Regions from separate parts of the Homo sapiens genome. Here region 1 is linked to region 2. The links are contacts of gene promoters, found by promoter capture Hi-C in blood cells and fetal thymus (Javierre and others, 2016). All regions are on one chromosome and are shown on one strand. Each heading gives the region's core, a stretch centred on a gene start or on the middle of the fragment in contact. The rest is flanking DNA. Distances are from core to core; before and after follow the strand shown. Region 1 holds the start of STAU1 (staufen double-stranded RNA binding protein 1). Region 2 holds the start of SLC9A8 (solute carrier family 9 member A8).

What was found. Contacts are between HindIII fragments. The CHiCAGO score rates a contact against its expected background, and 5 or more counts as called.
Region 1: a contact is called between the fragment with the promoter of STAU1 here and a fragment that was not itself captured in region 2, in 1 of 17 cell types (fetal thymus). The highest score is 6.3, in fetal thymus.

The regions. Positions count from the first base shown.
Region 1 is chr20:49,184,400-49,189,645 of GRCh38, reverse strand. It overlaps STAU1 (staufen double-stranded RNA binding protein 1), which reads left to right and starts at 1,312. Exons shown (of 14, transcript NM_017453.4): 1 at 1,312-1,530. RefSeq lists silencers at 1,039-1,708, 1,939-2,098 and an enhancer at 2,499-2,568. The HindIII fragment of the contact is 4,529 bases long and covers 1-2,486 here.
Region 2 is chr20:49,807,293-49,813,148 of GRCh38, reverse strand. It overlaps SLC9A8 (solute carrier family 9 member A8), which reads right to left and starts at 321. Exons shown (of 16, transcript NM_015266.3): 1 at 201-321. The coding sequence starts at 226. RefSeq lists a silencer at 73-352 and an enhancer at 503-642. The HindIII fragment of the contact is 166 bases long and covers 1,541-1,706 here.

The DNA.
Region 1 (5,246 bases), core at 63-2,562, 620 kb after region 2:
TTCTTTTTTTTTTTTTTTTTTTTTTTGAGACAGAGTCTCACTCTGTTGCCCAGGTTGGAGTGCAATGGCGTGATCTCGGCTCACTGCAACCTCCGTCTCCCGGGTTCAAGAGATTCTCCTGCCTCAGCCTCCCAAGTAGCTGTGATTACAGGCGCCCACCACTGCATCCGGCTAGTAGAGACGGGGTTTCACCATGTTAGTCAGGCTGGTCTCGAACTCCTGACCTCAGGTGATCCGCCCACCTCGGCCTCCCAAAGTGCCGGGATTACAGGCGTGAGCCACTGCGCCTGGCCAAGATTCTTTACTGGCCACCCTCTCTCCAACCTCCCATACAATACAGCTGCTAAAAACCACTTAGTTTATCTAGGTCTGGGTGAAATAAATAGTAATCTGGCACTTCTCGTCTTTTTTTTTTTTTTTTTTTTTTTTTTTTTTTTTTTTTTTGAGACCAGTGTCTCTTTGTCGCCAAGGCTGGAGTGCAGCGGCGCGATCTCAGCTCACTGCAATCTCCGCCTCCCGGGTTCAAGCGATTCTCCTGCCTCAGCCTCCCGAGTAGCTGTTTACCTACAGGCGCCCGCCACCACGCCCGGCTAATTTTTTGTATTTTCAGTAGAGACGGGGGTTTCACCGTGGTAGCCAGGATGGTCTCGATCTCTTGACCTAGTGATCCGCCCGCCTCGGCCTCCCAAAGTGCCGGGATTAGAGGCCTGAGCCAACGCGCCCGGGCCATTGTCTTTTATCTCACTACACATTTTTCAATTTTATTTATTGTGTATTTTACTTACACAAGAATGTAAGCTCCACGAGGGCAGGGATTTTTGTCAGTTCACCACTACATTCTTAGCTCTTGGAGCAATGCCTTGCATATGGCAAGCATTTAATGAACATTTACAGATGGAGGAAGAAACAACTGCAGGAAGGAGAGAAAGGAAGGCCAGAGGCAGGACAAGAGGAAGAAGCGACAGCAAGGAAGGAAAAAGGAAGTGGAGGAGGAAAGAAGGTAGGCTGGGTTCTCCCAGACCCGCTTCGAGTCCAGCAGGCAGCGCGAAACTCCCACCAGAACTACAACTCCCGGCAGGCCCCGGGACTCAGGACGGGCCGCTGCGGTCCAGGCGGGACAGGGCGCTCCTCCCGCTGGGCCCCCGGCGTGCCTTGCGAGCGCAGGCTCCGCCGCAGTGCCAGCCGGAACTTGTGGTTCGGACCGTGGGTGGGGGTGGGGCCGGGGCCGGGCCTGGAGGCGGGCGGGGGCCGGGGGCGGGCGCCTGCCCCTCCCCCGTCACTTCCTGCCGGGCTGCGGGCGCCTGAGCGGCTCTTCAGCGTTTGCGCCGGCGGCTGCCGCGTCTCTCTCGGCTCCCGCTTCCTTTGACCGCCTCCCCCCCCCGGCCCGGCGGCGCCCGCCTCCTCCACGGCCACTCCGCCTCTTCCCTCCCTTCGTCCCTTCTTCCTCTCCCTTTTTTCCTTCTTCCTTCCCCTCCTCGCCGCCACCGCCCAGGACCGCCGGCCGGGGGACGAGCTCGGAGCAGCAGCCAGGTGAGGCGGCCGGGCCGGGCCGGGCCTGGTGGGGCCCTCGCGGGCGCCGCCGCGGTGGGGAGGTGGGCGGCGGGTGGGGCCTAGGCCTCGGCGGGCCCGCGCACCCCTCCGCCTTCTCCCGGGCCTCTCTCTAGCCCGCGGGGCCTTCCCGGAGGAGGCGGGTCCTCTTGCGTTCCCTCGCCTCGGGGCGCCCTGAGGCCTGGCCCCGGGCGCCCCCATCCCCTCCAGCCCTCACCGGTGCCACAAACAGGTGCTGCGGCCGCCTTTCCTCGTCCCGCATGGCGCGCGCGGGGATGCCGAAGTTATTCCCGGGGCTGGGGCGCAGGCGGGGGGGGGGGGGGGTCCCTGCTTCAGGTCCCCGAGGGCTGGAGCCTCTCAGTGTCGCCGGCCCAGGTCTGTAGCTTAGTGGTTAAGAGCACGGCCCAGGTGTCCAAAACGGGTGCCGAACCCGGCTCTGCCCCGTTAGGCAAGACACTTAAAAAGTCTTTGTGTCTTGGTTGGAAAAGGGGCTGCTAATACCGTCCCTGCCTCTTAAGGTTCAGTGAAATGGGGCGTGTAAAGCGCTTATCAGAGTGCCAGACCCACAGCGTGTCCCAGTAAACCGTCTGCATAATTTATTAGCGTGATATGAAGGTATAATTTAATGGGCAGAGTGGATAGAAGTTGACCTACCTATCCGTTTGGGTTTCTTAGAGGCTGCAGTGTTCCGCGTGCCCATGTCCAGAGCCAGGGCATTGTTTTCAGTTGTTAACATCTGAAAGGGGCGTACGCTTAATTGGGACACTGTAGTTGACAGTCTGTAAACGATGGATGCTGTTTCTTTCCATCTCCGCTTAGGCAACTGCAGGATATTCACCATCTCCCGCAGGATGAGCAACCTGTCCATTTCTCCCCGCCCCGCCATCATCCAGCTTCTTCTTGTCATTCCATTTCTGGGAAAGTTGCTGGCAGAAGCTTCCCTTGAGTTGAGCAAACCTATCTAGAGCACTTGCTGTGTGTTGGGCTCTGAAGGGGGGTGTACGGAGATGGAAAAATTTGTCTGTCTTGTCTTGCTCTACACCTCGATAAGTTTTTTTTCACGGAAGCTTTGCTTATATTCACCCCTCCCTGTTGGCTGACTTTCCTTTTAAGCCCTTGCCCCGCCTCCGTGTTGCAGTATTGCTTGTGTGGAAGTTTTCTTCTGTTCCGCGAAGATACGTGCTTCAGTCTGTTCTGCCACTGTTCTTCGGCTGTGTGGAAGTTTTTAAGGTCACACTTCTCTTCTGCTTGTAGCTTTCATTGTTAAGAGCGTGGTGGAGTTAAATCAGGTTCCCGGTTGATTTTGGCGTTTCAGGAATCCGTGCTTACCAAGTGTAAATTGCATTGCTACTTGTTGAGGTAAAAACTAAAAATACAGTTGGAGTGTAGAGGGAGCAGTTTCGGTTATCCTGGTGACAGGTGGGATTTTTAGAACAGCAACTTTACTAAAACATACTGGGTTTTTAAAAATTCTGTACTTAGTTTTATAGGTGTACTCTAAGGAAATGCAACTTATGGGTGTTCAATTTTATATGAGTAAGGAGTGTGTGTTTACCTGAGTGATCCTCCTGTATCTTAGGATTGTTTTAGGCATTAAATTTCCTTAGTGAACTGAAACTATTTTGATTTATACCCATCTCTTAACACACATGCGGCAAAGTGGCCTCCTTGTTTTTGACATTTTCCTAGAATTTTCTGACAGTCTTACCATTGTTTGTAATTTAAAATGTTTGTTTGAATTTTTTTTTTTTTTTGAGACAGTCTCACGCTGTCGCCCAGGCTGGAGTGCAGTGGCGCGATTTCGGCTCATTTCAACCTCTGCCACCCTGGTTCAAAAGATTCTCCCGTCTCAGCCTCCCGAGTAGCTGGGATTACAGACGCCCGCCACCGCGCCGTGTTAATTTTTGTAGTTTTCGTAGAGACGGGGTTTTGCCATGTTGGCCAGACTGGTCTCGAACTCCTAACCTCGTGATCCACCCTCCTAGGCCTCCATAAGCAGGTTAGGCGCGGTGGCTCACGCCTGTAATCCCAGAACTTTTGGGAGGCCGAGGCGGGTGGATCACGAGGTCAGGAGATGGAGACTATCTCTTGAGCCTGGTGTGGTGGCGGGCGCCTGCAGTCCCAGCTACTCCCGAGGCTGAGACAGGAGAATCGCTTGAACCCGGGAGGTGGAGGTTGCCTGGGCGACAGAGAGAGACTCTCTCCAAAAAAACAAAACAAAAAAAACACATAAGCAAACAACTATACAAGCAGTATAAAGCATGTCTAATACTGCCATATCACAATGGCATATTTCAATAGGGAAATGGTATTTTAAATACCATTTTTTAAAAACCTTTTATTCTGGAAAACATGCGAAACTCGAATAGTATGGAGAACCCCATGTGTTAGTCACTCACTTAGCTTTGACAATTATTAACTCATAGCCAAGGTCGGTTTTGTTTCATGTTGTATCCCCCCACACAAACTAGATTATTTTGAAACAAATCTTAAACATTGTGTCACAACATTAGCGATTTTGACTTTTACCAGATTGCCCCAGATTAAGGTCACAAAATTTACTTTTAGTAGAATAATAGTTCTCATTTTTGTTTGTTGGGCTTCCCTTCTCTGTTTATACATGATTTCTGTACAGCAGAAAAGAAGAAGAAAATTAACTCTTGATCCAATGCCTTCAGCTCCTCAAAATCAAAATACAACCTTGCTGCTTTATTGTGTACAAAAGCAAAAATTCTTGAGCTATTAATGACTATAATTGAAAAGCGAACAAATACAGATTTCCCCAGTCCTGTTTTGGCAGAGACCTGCCTTTTAACCCACTTTAATAGAGATAACTTTGTGTCAAAGTTAAACTACAGTTAATAATTCATAATGAAAACTTAAAATGTTTCTTTACAGTAGTTGTGTAAAGATACTGCTGTTACCTTAGGTTAAGAATTAAGCAAAAGATAATCTTCTAACATAGAATTGTTTTCCAAAGTGCCCCCGTCTGCCCTATTTCCAAATAACAAATTTAGCAAATATGAATGAAACCTTAATTTTTGTGAATAGTATGAAATCACAGCATAAGTGTTCACGTTTTTCTTTCTTGTGTCTAAAGGATCTCTCTTACAATGGAAGTTGACAGGAATATTATAAATATTATAAATGTCTTTGTTGCATAACTTTCAAATTTCTGGTCGTGAATAGTTTTCAGCTTTTAGGTCTGTTATTTGAGTTTTGTAGGTGTACTTTGAGCTTGATCAGGTACAGTGGAAATGTTACATGTTATGTTTTAGTTATGACTACCTGGAAGATGGGGAAAGATACACCTCTTAAAATTGATTTAGGAAAGAAACGCCAATTTAGTATCTGGGAAAGGACACAACACATTTTTAAAAATGTGTAGTGCTTCCCATTAAGCTTAACGTAAAACTTTTAAGCATTGAGAATTGTTACCATAAATATAGTTTCTTGAGAATAAGTTGCTCTCTTTTAGGTTTCAGCCAGAAAGTCCATGTATATACAGATTACAGCAGGTCCTTGAATAATGTTGTTTCAAGATAATGTTGAGAAAAAAAACTGTCTGTGGAGTTTACACGTTCTCCCTATCCCTGCATGGGTTTTCTCTGGGTACTCTTGATTTCCTCCCACATCCCAAAGCTGTGCACGTGAGGTTCACTGGTGTGTGGAGCTGTGTGTGTAAGTGTGAGTGCTTT
Region 2 (5,856 bases), core at 374-2,873:
CGATCTCCAGGGGAAAGCAAGGCCCACCTGGGCCCAGGCCCGCCCATCCCGCCCTCCTCGTAGGCACCGGCTTGGTCAGTCCTGGCCAACCAGCAAAAGAAGCTCCGCCTTCCGGGGCCGGAGGGCGGCCTGAGGCGCTCGCTGTCACCCGCCGGGGCCCAGCCCCGCCGCCTCCGCCGCCCGGGAAAAAGCCCACTCACTCCTCTTCCGCCATCTTCTCCCCCATCCTGCGGAGCTTCCAGGACCACCGAGTTCGGAGCCGCGGGGCTAGCAGGACCCGCTTTTGCTTCCGGCTTCCGCTGGAGGCGCGGGCGGGCGAGCGGGAGGCGGGGCCTCGGCCGCGCGAGGGCGGCCCTCTGTCCCTCCGTCTCAGTGGCCCGAGGGTGGGAGAAAGCGCGTGGGAGGATTGCTTCTTAGTCTCTCCCGGGGCTTTCGGGACGCTTGTCCGGCCTGGGCCACATGACCACCTGGGACCGAGAGATTCCGGCTTTTCCCCATCACAGGGCGGGGACGTTTTGGGGAAACTCCTCTGAGGTCACTGTGACTCACCCTGAGGGCAAGCAAGCACCCTCCACCCAGTGCCCTCGACTTCGCTGTGCTAAAAGAGTTTGAAAAAGGATGCCCAGCCTGCAGCCTAAGCGGAGAGACCCCAGGGGGACACTTCCCCACCCGAGCCTTAGTTTCCTTCGGCTGTGGAGAGGAATAACCGCCTGGACTTGGCAGGACTGTGCAGCATTCCATCTGTAAACATGTGTTGAGTTCAGACTATATGCCTAGCGTTAAAAAGGATGCTGATGATCTAGGGGTGGACCATTCATTAAGGGGTTCATTGATTCACCACATGCTTAGTAGATGCTTCTATGTGCCTAGCAGTGACCGGTGGGGTGGGGATGCAGGGAGGAACAAGGTGAGGTGAGAGGGGTAGGTGAGACCCCCATCGGGAGGACTGGGGCTGAGGACTTTGAACTTTATTGGCCGCTTCTGTTGCTACCTCCCTTCCTGATCCAAGGCACTCTATCTCATCTGGATAATTGCAACGGCTCCATTCAGGGTCTCTGACTCACCCCTGTTCCTTACGGACTTCCACACAGCAGCTTAACTCATCACTCCTCTGCTTAGACCCTCCAATGGCTTCCAATCTCCAGAGAAAAAAAAAACGTGGGGAATGTACAGGACTCAATCCTGCCCCCTTTTCCCCTCTGAAGTGTGTGGGAGGGGGGCATGGGGCTCTATATCTCCCCTCCCACACACTTTGACTTTCCACTATTGTCCCAGACTCACCAGGAATACTTCCACCGTTGCACTTACTGAGCCTTTATCTAGAATGCTCTTCTTCTGGGTAGCTCTTTGGCTCCCACCTCTCCTACGTTTGGCCTTTTATTTAACCCTTATCTTGTGTGTTAGACCTCCTTGACCACCCTACTTAAAATCCAAGGCCCCCCGCCTTCCCTAAACTATTTTTCCACATGACACCTAACCTACCATATGTTTTACTCATACACTTGTTTGTTAACCATCTCCCTCCATGAGAACGGAAGCTTCATGAATGCAGAAATTTTTGTCTGTTTTGTTCTCCATTTTATCTGCAATGCCTACAACAGTACCTGGCACATAGTAGACACTCAATAATAAATAATCATTGAGTAAATAAATCAGTTAATTCTAGCACACCTAGAAGGGTTTTGAACTGAGAAGTAACCTAAGCTTTGCTGCCTGTTGGGAGTTGACTGGGGATTGGCGAGAGAGAGAGGATGGAAGCCCCAAAGCCAGCAAGGAGGCTTTTGCAATAATCTAGGTGACAGCTGATGGCAGTCTGGATGAAAGTAATACGGTGGAGGTGGCAGGAATGGTTGGACTCCTGGACGCATACTGAAGACAAGGTTTGCTGACGGACTATGGCGTATAAAAGAGGAGTTAAGCATGGTGTCAGGGTTTTGGCCCCGAGGAACTGGGTAGAGAAGAAATCTGGCTCTAACCTTGGGTTCTCCATCCTCTGCAGTCTCTTAAGACTGCTAAAGCTGACTGAGAGAATGTCATCAGGATCCACCAATGTTTATTGAGTAATAATAAACTTGCTTCCTTCCTGCAGGTGTGGTGTTGGGCTATTGTTTCCTTAATTCTTTACATAGCTTTGAGGTAGATACCATCATTATCCACAGACATAGAGAAATCAAGGCACTTGCCTGCGGTCCCACAGCTAGCAAATGACAAGGCTGGGATTCAGGCACAGAGCCAGTGTTTTTAAACCAGTAGCCCTGCTACTCTCCACTGCCTTAATTTCTCTGGCTCTTAAATGGGACTAATAACCTACTCTCCTCCGTTAGCACAGAGCCTGGCGGGAATGACCTGGTCTACAAAGGATTGAGAGTGGGGTTCTCTCTGGCCACACTTGTCAACTGAGGGCTTGAGGCTACCATTTTCTACCAGCACCAATAAACCCCACATGGCTGGAATTCGCCAAGCTGGAAACTCCACATAGCTGGAATTCACTACTCTTCTCTATCCGTTGTCTTGCCTACTGCCCTTGGCCTCCTCTGGGCCTACCACTAACCATGAGGCTGCAGAGAACATTCTCTCATGCCCATGGGTGAGTCTTTGGCTCTTCTCACCTATTCCTGAGAATGAATCTAAAATCCCTGGTCCTTCCCCGAGGAAGGTGAATAAAGCCATTCAACATGCAGTTTCTGGGCTCCAATGCTGTGTCAGGCCGAGAAGGAGGCAGCATAAGGCACCACAAATTCTGGTGCCAGACAGTGCTGGTTCCCAACCCCTCCTCAGGACCTACAGTCTCCGTGACCCTGAGAGGCTACAGCACCCTCAGAGCCTCAGGGCCCCCTCAATTTTTTTTTCTTTTTTTCTTTAATAACGCTTCTCTTTAGAAGACTGTTACAAGATTAGAGAGAAAACTGCCTTTGCTCTCCATTGTCTCTGCCTAGACAGCTCTGCCCGCTATCTCCAGTCTTCTTGTTATTCATGTCTCAGCTTAAATGTCCCCTCCTCAGGGAAGCCCTCCCTGACCAGTCTCTGTAAAGAGTCAGACAGTAAATACTGAAGGCTTTGTGGGCCTTACTATCTCTGTAGCAACAAATCAACTCTGTAGTTTGCATGCAGCATAAATAATATAAATAGGCATAGCTGTGTTCCAACAAAACTTTATGGATACTGAAATTTGAATTTTGCATTACTTTCACATGTCATGAAATACCATTCTTCTTTGGATTTTTTTTTTTTTTTTTTTTTGAGATGGAGTGTCTGTCACCCAGGCTGGAGTGCAATGGCACGATCTCGGCTCATTACAACCTGCACCTCCCAGGTTCAAGCAATTCTCCTGCCTCAGCCTCCCAAGTAGCTGAGACTACAGGTATGTGCCACCATGCCCTGCTAATTTTTGTATTTTTAGTGGAGATAGGGTTTCACCATGTTGGCCAGCATGGTCTCAATCTCTTGATCTCGTGATCCGCCTGCCTTGGCCTCCCCAAGTGCTGGGATTACAGGCATGAGCCACCAGGCCTGGCCTGTTGTTGTATTTTAAGATGGAGTCTCACTCTGTCACTCAGGCTGGAGTGCAGTGGCACGATCTCGGCTTACTGCAACCTCTGCCTCCTGGGTTCAAGCGATTCCTGCTTCAGCCTCCCAAGTAGCTGGAATTACAGGCGTGTGCCACCATGCCCAGCTAATTTTTGTATTTTTAGTAGAGACGGGGTTTCGCCATATTGGCCAGGCTGGTCTCAAACTCCTGACCTCAAGTGATCCACCTGCCTCAGCCTCCCAAAGTGCTGGGATAACAGGCATGAGCCACTGTGCCTGGCTAAGAATTTGATCTTTAATGCTTTTATTAAACAGGGAATCAAATTGGTTACCATGTATATCAGTCAGGATTCAATCAGAGAAGCAGAACCAAAAGGGGATATATTTTAAGAGCTTTATGGCAAGGAATTGGCTTAAAACAACACAAATGAATTATCTTATAGTTCTGTAGGTTAGAAGATAAAGATTTTCACTGGGCTAAAATCAAGGTGTTGGCAGGGTCACATTCATTCTGGAGGCCCTACGGGAGAATAAACTTTCTTGCCTTTTCCAGCTCCTAGAGTCTGCTTGCATCCCATGTCTCATGGTCCACTCGCTATTTTTAAAGCCAAGGACTGCCTCACCCCATGCTCTGCTTCTGATTCTGACTCTCTTGTCTTCCTCTTCCTCTTCCCCTCCACCCCCCCCTTTTTTTTTTTTTTGAGACTGAGTCTTGCTCTGTCGCCCATGCTCAAGTGCAGTGGCATGATCTCGGCTCACTACAACCTCCGCCTCCGGGGTTCAAGCGATTCCCATCTCAGCCTCCCAAGTAGATGGGGTTACAGGTGCCCGCCACCACACCAGCTCATTTTTGTAGTTTTAGTAGAGATGGGGTTTCACCATGTTGGCCAGGCTGGTCTTGAACTCCTGACCTCAGGTGATCCACCCACCTTGGCCTCCCAAAGTGCTTGGATTACAGGCATGAGCCACTGTGCCCAGCCCCTCTTTCTCTTATTAGGACCCTTCTGACTACATTGGACCCACCTACATAATCAGAATAATCTGCCCGTCTCAAAGTCAGCTGATTAGCACCCTATTTCCATCTGCAATCTTAATTCGTCCTTGCCCTGTAACATATTCACAGGGACCAGCAATTAGCACGTGGCCATCTTTGGAGGGCCATTATCCTACCCACCACGCCATAGGAAAAATAAGATCTGTTGGACTTCTCCTCATGTATTTTTTTTTTTCTTTTTTTGAGACGGAGTTTCACTCTTGTTGCCCAGGCTGGAGTGCAATGGCACAATCTCGGCTCACTGCAACCTCCACCTCCTGGGTTCAAGTGATTCTCCTGCCTCAGCCTCCCGAGTAGCTGGGATTACAGGCATGTGCCACCACACCCGGCTAATTTTGTATTTTTAGTACAGATGGGGTTTCTCCACATTGGTCAGGCTGGTCTCGAACTCCCGACCTCAGGTGATCTGCTCGCCTTGGCCTCCCGTAGTGCTGGGACTACAGGCGTGAGCCACCACACCCAGCCCTCTTCATGTATTTTTGCTATTTATTATCATTTCATATTGATTTATACATGGGAACGAGTGGGGCATAATTTCTTTAATACCTTTGGATGCTAACATTTTAATCTGGCCCTGGCCACTTAGCACGTAACAGGCACTAGAATTACTAAGCAAAAATAGAAAATCTGGGCTTGTAGAATTCAGTGGAGTCAGGTGTAATTCTCTGAGAAAGTTTGTGAAAAAAATCCAGATTCCAGGCCATGCATGGTGACTCACAGCTGTAATCCCAGCACTTTGGGAGGCCGAGGTGGGTAGATCACCCGAGGTCAGGAGTTCAAAACCTTCTTCACCCTCACCTGCCTTGTGTCCTCCCCACTGTCCCCACCCTAAGACTTGGTGACCGATAGAAACACTTGCTTCCTTGGCTTACTTTTTTTCTTTCTCCCTTTAAAAAAAAATCATAGTTTTGGCCGGGCGTGGTGGCACACACCTGTAATCTCAACTACTTGGGAGGCTGAGGCAGAAGAATCACTTGAACCTGGGAGGTGGAGGTTGCCTTGAGCCTAGATCGCACCACTGCACTCCAGCCTGGGCGACAGAGGGCGACTCCATCTCAAAAGAAAAAAAAAAGGAAAAGAAAAATGAAAAGTTGCAGAAAAGGAGAAAAGTAAAGGTCATCATAGTTTACCACGGAGCTCAGCTGTGAATGGCATTTACATAGTCACAATAATGTATACTGTAAATGTCAATCTCACAAGAATAACCATATAACTATATTGAGAGAATAAAGGATGGGAAGGGTCTCTGCATGGGCTGGGCAGGTGAGGAGAGG